Linked DNA regions of Homo sapiens: all the other regions are linked to region 2. Evidence: promoter capture Hi-C in 16 types of primary human blood cells and fetal thymus (Javierre and others, 2016). All regions are on one chromosome and are shown on one strand. Each heading gives the region's core, a stretch centred on a gene start or on the middle of the fragment in contact. The rest is flanking DNA. Distances are from core to core; before and after follow the strand shown. Region 1 overlaps PLCB1 (phospholipase C beta 1). Region 2 holds the start of HAO1 (hydroxyacid oxidase 1). Region 3 overlaps PLCB1 (phospholipase C beta 1).

Region 1 (3,521 bases), core at 164-2,663, 770 kb before region 2:
ATTTTTAAAAATGTATATGTCACAAGTTTCAATATATGTACAAAATTCTAGAAAGTAAAGGTATTAAAATTGATTTAACCATTCCCCAACTGTTGGACAGCTACATTTTCAGAGCTGTCATTCAAATAATTCTACAGAGAACAGCTTCATTTTTTCCCTAATATCTTGATTGATTTTCTGGGAATGAATTCTCAGAAGGGGAATTCTTGATTTAAGAATATGAATACTCTTACAGTCCCTCATGTATTTCAAATTACTTTTCACTTTAGATTGCCCAGAGTAATGCATGCAGGACCAGATTTCAATGCATATTCACCAGTTTTGGGCATTATTCTTAAAAATGTTTTTCTTATTTAACTGGTAGTAAAGTGCAGTCTCATTTATTGTTTAATTATATCACTTTCAGTAGTAGTGAGGTTGCATATTCCCATACACTTGTTTTTAGTTACATTTATTTTTTTCATATTCTCCTTTTAAATAGGGATTTCCACTCCTATTCTTTATGCCTGAGCCTTTTCTGCTATCGTCTCTACCTTCCCCATTCAATATATAGCGTTCTTTATATCCACTCCTGAAAGCTATTTCCCTGGCCCCAGAGTATAAGTAAGGCTTTCTAATTCTGTACTACATTTGCATATATCCTCTAAGAAGGATTTGCCTGCATGGAGCGAGAAGAATCACTTTTACTGTTTCTTAGAAATGAACTCACAGATTATCTTTCATACATAATCAGTTTAACTTTTACGATAGTTGAGTCTGTCAAAAAAAGCAAGCACTATAAAAGGCAAGCAACATCCAGATTTTAAATGCTATATTTGATTTATTTGAGTATAGGCTTTGGATTCAAACCGACTTTTGAATCCTTGCCTCTGAGATTTGCAAGCTGTGTGACCTTGGGAAAATCACTTAATGCCTCTGTGTATTGGTTTGCTAATCTATAAAGTGCAATAAACCTCACTTCACAGATCTGTTGTGAAGATGCAGCAAGAGAAGGCAAAGGACTCAGCTCATGATGGTTATCTATTCTTGATTCAACTAAGGTGCAGAGATATTAACTGACTTACCTTAAGTCATAGAGAAGAGAATCCAAGATTAAACCCCAGGAAGATTTGTCTGACTCTAGAGCTTATTAATACCCAACCATTGCAGTAACTTCCATGCAGCTAATAATCTTAGCCAGCTAAGAGCAAAGCCCTCAAAAGAACTGAGAATAGAGGTCATCAAGGATGTGGATGCTAAGTGTGGAAAAAAAGGGCTGGATTTTGTTTATTTCATAAATTTGGCACTAGTGTATCAGGTAAAGGATAAATACAGTAGAGCCATTCTCGCCTCCTCTCCTTCTCTCACACCTTTCAATTCATCAGCAATCTTGTCCAAAATAGGTCCCGAGTACAGTCAAGTGTCAGCACCTCCACTGCTATCATCCTGATACAAAAACCACTGCAGTGACTGCTGTGGTAGATTTTATCACCATTCCCACGTATTTGCTTCCCCCTTCCTTTGGGAGAATTCTGTCTACACACCCTGTTGACCATAGGCTTGGCCGTGGTTTTATTTTGGCCAAGGGCCTGTGTATGAAAATGACATGTGCTGCTGCTGAGTAGAGTCTTAAAGACCCATCATGTTGTTGTCCAGCCATTTCTCTTTCTCTTCTCCCATGAGTCCAGTGATATCATAGATGTGGGTTGTTCTTTCAACATGAATTCCAAACAATAGCAATCAGAGCAACAGCTGACATCTAACCTGTGTGAGAAGTAAACCGTTGTGGTTGTAAATCACTGTGATCCTAGGGTTTCTTCTTATTGCAGCAAAACCTAGGAGAAGCTGACTGACAGTCTTTTTATTGCTTTCCTGGCTTCTAGTACTTGCCGCTGTATTCCACACCATAGCCAGAGTCATTGCTCCTAAACATGAGTAGACAGTTTCGCTCCTTTCTATAAACTTTCCAATGACCTCCCATTTCACATGGAATGAAATCCAAATTCATTATCATAATCTACACAGCCTAACTTGATCTGGCACCTGCCATTTCTTTAAATACATCTCTTTTTCCTCTCCCTCTCTGTCACCTGGATACAGTCCATTGATCTTGTTGCTTTTCCTTGAATACATCAAGCATGCTTTCATCTCACCATCTTTGCACTTTGTTCCTTCAGTCAAAAATACTCACATTAAAGCATGATTTACTGCATTGATTTGGGAGTAAGTACAGCACCTGTGCCTAAACATCACCTTACCAAAGGCCTGCCTCTACCATCCAGACAGCATAATTCAGGTCTCTCTTTTCCTTGCCCACTGATTTAGATTGCTTTAAAGGGCATGTTTCTATGTACCGTATCTTTGTGTTTATTTTGATCTATCTTTCCTCACTAGACAGTGTAAACTTCTTGAGGTAAGAACTTGTTTTCTTCACTGTTCTGCTAAGGCACATTCTAGATGCTCAGGAAATACTTTCAAATGAATGAATGAACTCCTAATATATGACAGAAGAGAAACAGAATTTATCTAGTTGTGTTCCCATTTATTCTTCTATTGACTAGCTCAGAGGTCAGCATACATTTTTTCATAAAGGACCAGGTAGCATTTTAGGCTTTGCTGGCCATATAGTTTCTATTTCTATGGCAACTGTTCAACTCTGCCTTTGTAGCTCGTGATGATTAATTTTATGTGTCAACTTGACTGGGTCATGGGGTGCCCAGATATTTCGTTAAACATTCTTCTGGGTGTCTCTGTGAGGGGTTTCTGGATGAGATTAACATTTGAATTGGTAGACCGAGTTAAGCAGCCTGCCCTCCCTAATGTGGATGGGCCTCATTCAACGCACTGGAAGCCTGAATAGGAAAAAAAAAAAAAGAGTAAAGGAGAATTTGCTGTTTCTGCCTGACTGTTTTTGAGCTGGGACATTGGTCTTCTCCTACCTTGAGACTTGGACTTGGACTGCAGCTTACACCATTAGCTCTCCTTATTCTTAGGCCTTTGGATTGGGACTGATATTGTGCCATTAGGTCAGCTGGGTCTCCAGCTTGCCAACTGCAGATCTTGGGATTTCTCAGCCTCCATAACCACATAAGCCAGTTCCTTTTAATAACTCTGTCTCTCTAGAGATAGAGACAGTCCAGACTAATGCATAGCCCCAAAGCAGCCACAGATAATATGTAAACAATTGGATGTGGCTGTGTCCCAATAAAGCTTAATTCACAAAAGCAGATGACAGGATAAATGTGGTCTGCAGAAGATAGTTTGTTGACCCTTGGACTAGTCTGATCATTGGCTTAAGCAAAGCTTAAAACTTGATTGTAACCAAAGATAAATGTAATTTTGTATTACAGAAGATTGAATGTTGATTCATACTTAATAGCCAGATTAACTTTTTAACAACTTCATGGCTGAAATTTCCAATAAACATTACAAAAGTCCTGCAAATACACATGTAAATAAAAGTGTAATTAGTCTTTGCTAACTTTTCTTTTCTTTTTTTTTTTTTGAAACGAAGTCTTGCTCTGTTGCCCAGGCTGGAGTGC
Region 2 (3,633 bases), core at 1,070-3,569:
AACCTGGGAGGCGGAGGTTGCAGTGAGCCGAGATTGCGCCACTTCACTCCAGTCTGGTGACGGCGTGAGACTCCATCTCAAAACAAAAAACAAACAAAAAAGGAACATAGCCAACACAGCATAGATTATCAACCAGCTCACACTGTGGATAACTGAAACCTGCAATGTAGAACATAATCCTAGGAGTAATCCCACCAGAAGAATGAACTTTCTTGGGCTTGTGATTGAGGGCTGTTCCACAGGGTATGGAACTATACTATTTGGCATGCTATGTTTATGAAAAAAGCAGGCTCCAAGTTCAAGAGCAAGTTCTCCTACAGGTGTAGGTGGTTGGAATGTAGATAGTGAACAACTGGCAAGCAGCTTTAAGTGGCGGCTCCTAGATTGAAACTCAGGTCTAACTGTAGTTAAAATCATTGCTTTCTCAAGCATATCCTACTAATGTGAATCTTCCCCAGGTGTTCCATGATTGAGTGAAATTATAGACTGAGACCACAGGTCTTTTGGAATAGCACTTCCCTATACCCTCTCCAGGGCAAGATAAGACTCTAAGAATTAGTGGTAGGCCATGTGCAGTGGCTCACACCTGCAATCCCAGCACTCTGGGAGGCCGAGGTGGTTGGATCACTTGAGGTCAGGAGTTTGAGACCAGCCTGGCCAATATAGTGAAACCCCATCTTTACTAAATAAAAATACAAAAATTAGCCAGGCGTGGTGGACATGCCTGTAGTCCCAGTTACTTGGGAGGCTGAGGCAGAATAATCTCTTGAACCTGGGAGGTAGAGGCTGCAATGAGCCGAGATCACACCACTGCACTCCAGCCTGGGAGACAGAGAAAGACTCCATCTCAAAAAGAAAAAAAAAAAGAATTAATGGTAAACCTAAATGCCCATTAAGAGACAAATGGATAAGGGAAATGTATAGATATACACACAATGAAATATTATTCAGCCTTATAAGAGAAGGGAATCCTGTCATTTGCAGTAGAACCCAGAGAACATTATGCTAAGTGAAATAAGCCAGGCACAAAAGGGAAATTATTGCATTATTTCACTTATAGGTGGGATTTTGTTTTAAAAAAGACTTCAAATGCACAGAGCTAGAGAATGAAACAGTGAATACCACTAGTGGGAAGCAGGGAAGAGGAAAAGGGGTGATATAGGTCAAAGGATACAAAATAGTAGACACGTAGGATACATAAATCTACAACAGGGTCCCTAACCTTTTCGGCACCAGGGACAAGTTTTGTGGAATACAATTTTTCCATGGGCAGTGGGGGTAGGTGGATGGTTTTGGAATGAAACTGTTCCACCTCAGATCATCAGGCATTAGATTCTCATAAGGAGTGGCGCAACCTAGATCCCTCGCATGTGCAGTTCACAATAGGAGGCGGAGCTCAGTCTGTAAAGCTTGCTCACCGGCTGCTCACCTCCTGCTGTGCAGCTTGGTTCCTAACAGGCCACGGACCAGTACCAGTCCATGCTGGGGAGTTTGGGACCCCTGGTCTAGAGAGCAAACGTGCAAAATGAGGACTAAAGTTAATAAAATTGTATCATATTAGGAATTTTTGTTAAATAAGTTGATTTTAGCTGTTCTTGTCATACACACAAAAAAGTAATTACGGGTGAGATGATACATATATTATATTGGCCTCCCTACTGTAACCATTTTTCTGTGTATATGTATCTCATAATATCATGTTGTAAACCTCAAATATACAGAATGAATAAAACAATTAGCTGTCAATTTGGCCTTAATGTTCCATGTTAAAGCCAAATGTCTATGTTTGTAATCAGCTAAATTTTATATTGTGCAGAAGCCCTGAATTTCACGGATGCCCCATATTTCATGGATGCCCCGTTCAGTTCATAAGCTCTTGTTTACATGATTTGTGCATGATCCAAATGTGGAAAGAAAATGAGTGGGCAGCCTATTCTGGGTATCAAGCAAAGAGCACAGGCACAGACCATGTGCAATAAGCAGCCTTAGGCAAAACTGAACCAAGAGTGGTTTCATACAGGTATTCCTCTAAGTCTTTAATTTTTTACTTATTCCTTTCCCCTTTTTAATGTGATAGACACCTAATCACCTTCTGCTGCCTTCCCAACCTCAACTTTGGTGTTCTTTGGCAGATAGTGACTTCGGTGTTCTTTGGCAGATAGCCTACAAATGAAATTTCAAAGGCTAAGCATATAATGTTTGCTCACTTGATGTAAGCAACAGAGAACTAAATCTGAACTTTGGCAAAAGTCTATTAATAATTGACAAATAACAGAACAGTGAGGATGTAGAAAGCAATACATTAAAAAAAAAAAAACAACGAACTCCATCTGGGATAGCAATAACCTGTGAAAATGCTCCCCCGGCTAATTTGTATCAATGATTATGAACAACATGCTAAATCAGTACTTCCAAAGTCTATATATGACTATTACAGGTCTGGGGCAAATGATGAAGAAACTTTGGCTGATAATATTGCAGCATTTTCCAGGTAAGAAAATTTATTTTTTAAAATCATGTTTTAAAATTACACAAAGACCGTACCAAAATAAGATCTCCTAGTTTTACGTTGGTGGTGTGTAATTATTTGTTCAGATTTGTGCTTAGTAGAGAGGGAAAAGTTCTTGGGGCTGTAAGAAATCTTGGGCCTTTAAATTGTTAAAAAATATTCCAAGCCTGTGAATCTTGAGGAACTGACTGCAAAAGCCAAACCTATGTTACTTCACTTGGAAATATGACAACAATTAATTTAACTACATGTAAAAATAGCGATAAATTCGGATGACTTTTCTTTTTCTTAGTATGACAGTAAATGCTTATGTTCATGGTGTAGGAAACAGCATTAAATGCCAGATAACCATCTTATCCGGATGAACCAGACTGGATTGTTGGCTCAAATGTTTTCTTCCTGCTGGCTTTTCGTGTTATCATTCATTTTGATTACTGTTGTCTAAACTTTCACTTTAGATTTCAATTTGTCTATGCAGCATTAATCTTTCAACTTTGCTGTTTCATCTCTCCTTCAAAGCACTTCATCTCTCTTCCCAAATTAGTTTTCCTTTGACTTTCATATTTCAAAGCACAAGATGGTGGGTGACATGGTTTATGTTTTCTGTTTGTAATAAAAACAAGAAATAAAATCATTTCAAAGGGTTTTTTTTTATAGCAGTTACAAAAATGGTTTATTTGCTGGAGCAAGAGAGGAGTGCCTTCACTACACTACACTCAGTCTCATCCATCTAACATTATGGCTGTTAGTAAAGGCAATCGGTATTGTGGGTACTCATTGATGGTGATAAAGACAAAAAGGCAGAAAATATGCAGGGGGAGAGAATTAGCCTTCCTCCCTGATTTCTTCTTTAGTCTACAACAAAATCACTCAAAATCAGTTTTCCATATTTAAATTAGGAGAAATAAAATTATCCTGGCCAAGGTGGTCTCTGGTAGGCAGCACTGATTCACCCACAAATCCATGTAGAAGACTGAAAATGGCAATGGGGTGAAGGATACGGCCTCTCCCCAACCCTTTCAAGCCTTGACTTTGTCTCAGGTTTTGCCTGGAACCCAAATGAGCTCAACAAATGCCAGGGAAGTCATGGGAAGGGAAGTTGACTGAGAGTAGAGGGGCTTAAA
Region 3 (3,467 bases), core at 110-2,609, 800 kb before region 2:
GCGGATGGGATGTTTGAATTACAGTTGATTTCTTTGTTGTTTTCTTTTGTCATTTTTACGTTTTAAATTTTCTATAATAAATCGAGGATGCTTTCGAAATAAGAAAAACATTACTTAACAATGTCAACTTTAATAGACTATTTAAATGGACTATTTAATGGATAACTATTAGTTATACTTATTAAAACAATTTTCAAGGTTTTTTCCCCCAATACTGACAGTTCTCCATTTTCTATCTTTTTTCTCGAGTTTTTCCTCTGAATAAAATATGAAAATAGCAAATTTTTATCACTATTTTTAATATTAGTGTCACCCTTAATAATCAAGTTATAATTCACTTTTTTTAAAAGCAAAAAGACTGCCAGTCTACATAGAAGCTTTATAAATTTAAACTTCATTTCTACTATTTTTAGACCCTTCCTTAATTATGCTTTGCATTGTGACATCTAATTTGGAATAATATATCAATTATTTGCAGGACACACATTATAATACATAAATATACCATCTAATAATAACAGTAGACTCTTTATGACTCATACTATTTTCCAGGTATTGTGTTAAATATTTTATGTACTATAAAAATCAGAAAAGCACTTTGAAAATCCTGCATGCTACATTAAAGATAAAGGGAAACCCTAAATGATTTGATGATTATCTTCCTTTTTAAATGCGTTCATCACCTTTAATTAGCATGGAATCATGTAGAAAGTTTCATCTGAAATAGCAAGATGTGTGCAGTTTAATTTTATCACAAGATAAGATGCTCGTGGTATCCACAGAATGCCAAAAGAAAATGAAATGTGAAAAATTTAAGTCAATCATCTAGATGTTCTGTGACATGATGCTAAACTGCATGAAAGTGTTGTTCCAATGTGCTATTCCTTCTCCCAAGGTATGTGATATTACTTAGGCAAAGCCAACAAGTAGGTGTGGTGATCATGCTTAATGCTATATGTAAAATTAAAACACCCTCTCACCTCTTTCTTTACTTCTTCTTCATCTTCCAGTGTCAAAGCAGCCAATTGCTTAGCTCTCTGTTCCATCAGGTTCACATATCGGATTGGGTTTGATAAAGCTTCGATGACATCTAAATAGGGAAGAGATATTTTAGATCAAAGGTCCTGGAAGTATTGATTATCCATCATTCATCTACTTACTCATCTATCTGACCATCAGTCCATGCATTCATTCATCACCCATCTACCCACCCATCCATCCATCCATCCATCCACCCAGTCATTATCCATCTTCCATTCTTCTGTCTACCCATATAACTATCTACTCCTCTATCCAACACTTTGAACATGGACAAGGGTTAGGACTCTGTTGAAACTTCAGGAAGAGAGAAATTAAGAGTTTAGTTCTGAGAGTCAAACTGGACAGGCTTCAACTCAGGATCCCTGAATATTCTTGATTCCTTAGTTTCTTTTTGAAGGTCCCATCCATTCCGGCAATGGCCCACCCAATTGTCCTATTTGGCCCAAATGACGTTTCATAAATGGAGACATTTTACATAAAAAGCCTGCTTTCCGGACTGTTGGGATAACCCAATGATTTGCCAATATAGTTATTTGAAGGGCAGTGCCTAGCTGGAATGAGTTATGGCTGCCAGCTTTGGATGGACAGCCCCAAGCTTACCATGGTCTCCACTACTCCCCAGTGTCTTACACCCAAGCTACTTGGCACTATAAGCATTTACACTTATGATTCTTGGTTAATTCCTTAAATTTAGGATGTCACCCATGAAAAGAATCAGCATTCTAAAATTGGTGGAAGACAAATTCAGTGTACAGACCTAGACATTTGTTGTAATGGATAACATGAGTTGGTAAGTGCTGGGCCCATGAGAATAAGACTAAAAGGGAATAAATATTCAAAAAACTGAGGTGTTGTGATTTTAATTAAAATACGTTAAATTAAAATGTATTCACAATGGCTCAAGCAATTTACCTCTAAACATACATACGAAAGTAGGGGTGATTCTGAAGCCAGAATCTCCTGCTTTGTTTGGTTCAGTTTTCCTTTCACTAACCCAAAAATATATGGTGACTCAGACAGAAATACCCCTTTGAGTAAAGTGGTATTTGAGTTAAGTTGTTTACCTGCATATGTGTCTGGCACATAGTCTTTCACTTCTATGTAGACAAAGACAGCAGGCAGCGTCAGAGGCTGGTTCCTTTCATTCCTTAGACAGATATAGTGATAGCCTGGAAGGTGAGAATAATGCTGTGTAGCACATATTTCCTTTCCAATGTTAGTTATAATTATGCGCATCTATGTGATGAAAGCATGTATTTCAGGTTACTTTAGATGAAAAACAAATCACTTTTTTCATTTTAATAACATTTATGAATGATAAGGCATTATTTTTCTCATCAGACAAGAAAACATTCAATGTGATTTTTTCCTTTCCAACCGTATGATTTTTCCCACAAAAGATAATTCCAAATCACATGTCATAGACTGAATTATTGATCCAAACTTGCCCCCATAACAGAATTATACTTGACATGACTTCTTTTTTTAAAAAATTGTTATTATTATTTTTTGTAGAGACAGGGTCTCATTCTGTTGCTCAGGCTGGTTTCAAACTTCTGGCCTCAAGAGATCCTCCTGCCTCAGCCTCCCAAAGTGCTGAGATTATAGGCGTGAGCCACCATGCCCAGCCTTGACGTGATTTCTTGACTTGTGCTTAAGCTCTGCTTTAGTCAACAGTATATTAGTAATTTGGTGTAGGTAGAGGCTTAAAATGCACATGCAGAGTTAGACATTCCAGTGTTCTGCCAAGAGAAGTCCATATTGTAGAAGCAACTGCCACTTCAGCCTGGACCCCAGAGTGAGCGCATGTGGGACAGACATAGACCCAACCCAGAACCTGAAGCACAGCTATGCTGCGGAGCCCAGGCTAGATTAGCCAAACCCGGCCAACCCACAGACCTATGAGCACGAAGATAAATATTTGCATATAAGTTTTCAGATTGTTTGTTACACATAATTATTGTTGAAAGAGTTGACTAACATTAATACTACAACATGTCACAAAAACATGTAACTAAATCTCATCGCCCTTGTTACATAACAAAATTACAAAGCAGAAAATAGTTTCTTAAGTCATTTTCTAGTAATATTTTAAGCAGTAATGATTTTCTTTGCAACTTTGATAAAAGGTTTCTCAGCACACTACCCATACCTGGCCGAATGGCTTGCACTGGCAAGATACGGTGGCCAATGAATTTACCTCCTTCTTCATAAACTGCTATTCTCAAACAGGCCAGAGTAGGAAGAACCACCTACAAAGGACATTAAGGACACACCTGGTTATAAGAATGAACAATTCCAAGAAATAATTAGAAAGGTATTATTCAATCAGGACTAGCTTTTCTTTTCTCTTTCTTTTTTTGAGATAGAGTCTTGCTGTGTCACCCAGGCTGAAGTGCAGTGGCGTGATCTTGGCTCACTGCAAC

What was found. The method cuts DNA at HindIII sites, captures the fragments that hold promoters and counts their contacts. A CHiCAGO score of 5 or more calls a contact.
Region 1: a fragment that was not itself captured here is called in contact with the fragment with the promoter of HAO1 in region 2 in 2 of 17 cell types (total B cells and fetal thymus); the score reaches 5.2 in total B cells.
Region 3: a contact is called between a fragment that was not itself captured here and the fragment with the promoter of HAO1 in region 2, in 1 of 17 cell types (M0 macrophages). The highest score is 5.4, in M0 macrophages.

Annotation. Positions count from the first base shown.
Region 1 is chr20:8,704,317-8,707,837 of GRCh38, reverse strand. The region is part of intron 11 of PLCB1 (phospholipase C beta 1); the gene reads right to left. Among named protein-coding and RNA genes, the nearest start is that of RNU105B, 130 kb to the left of the region's middle. The HindIII fragment of the contact is 3,557 bases long and covers 1-3,191 here.
Region 2 is chr20:7,939,144-7,942,776 of GRCh38, reverse strand. It overlaps HAO1 (hydroxyacid oxidase 1), which reads left to right and starts at 2,319. Exons shown (of 8, transcript NM_017545.3): 1 at 2,319-2,491. The coding sequence starts at 2,355. The HindIII fragment of the contact is 4,903 bases long and covers 1,412-3,633 here.
Region 3 is chr20:8,739,087-8,742,553 of GRCh38, reverse strand. PLCB1 (phospholipase C beta 1) reads right to left here. Exons shown (of 32, transcript NM_015192.4): 21 at 3,194-3,293; 22 at 2,106-2,210; 23 at 981-1,090. Among named protein-coding and RNA genes, the nearest start is that of RNU105B, 90 kb to the left of the region's middle. The HindIII fragment of the contact is 558 bases long and covers 1,081-1,638 here.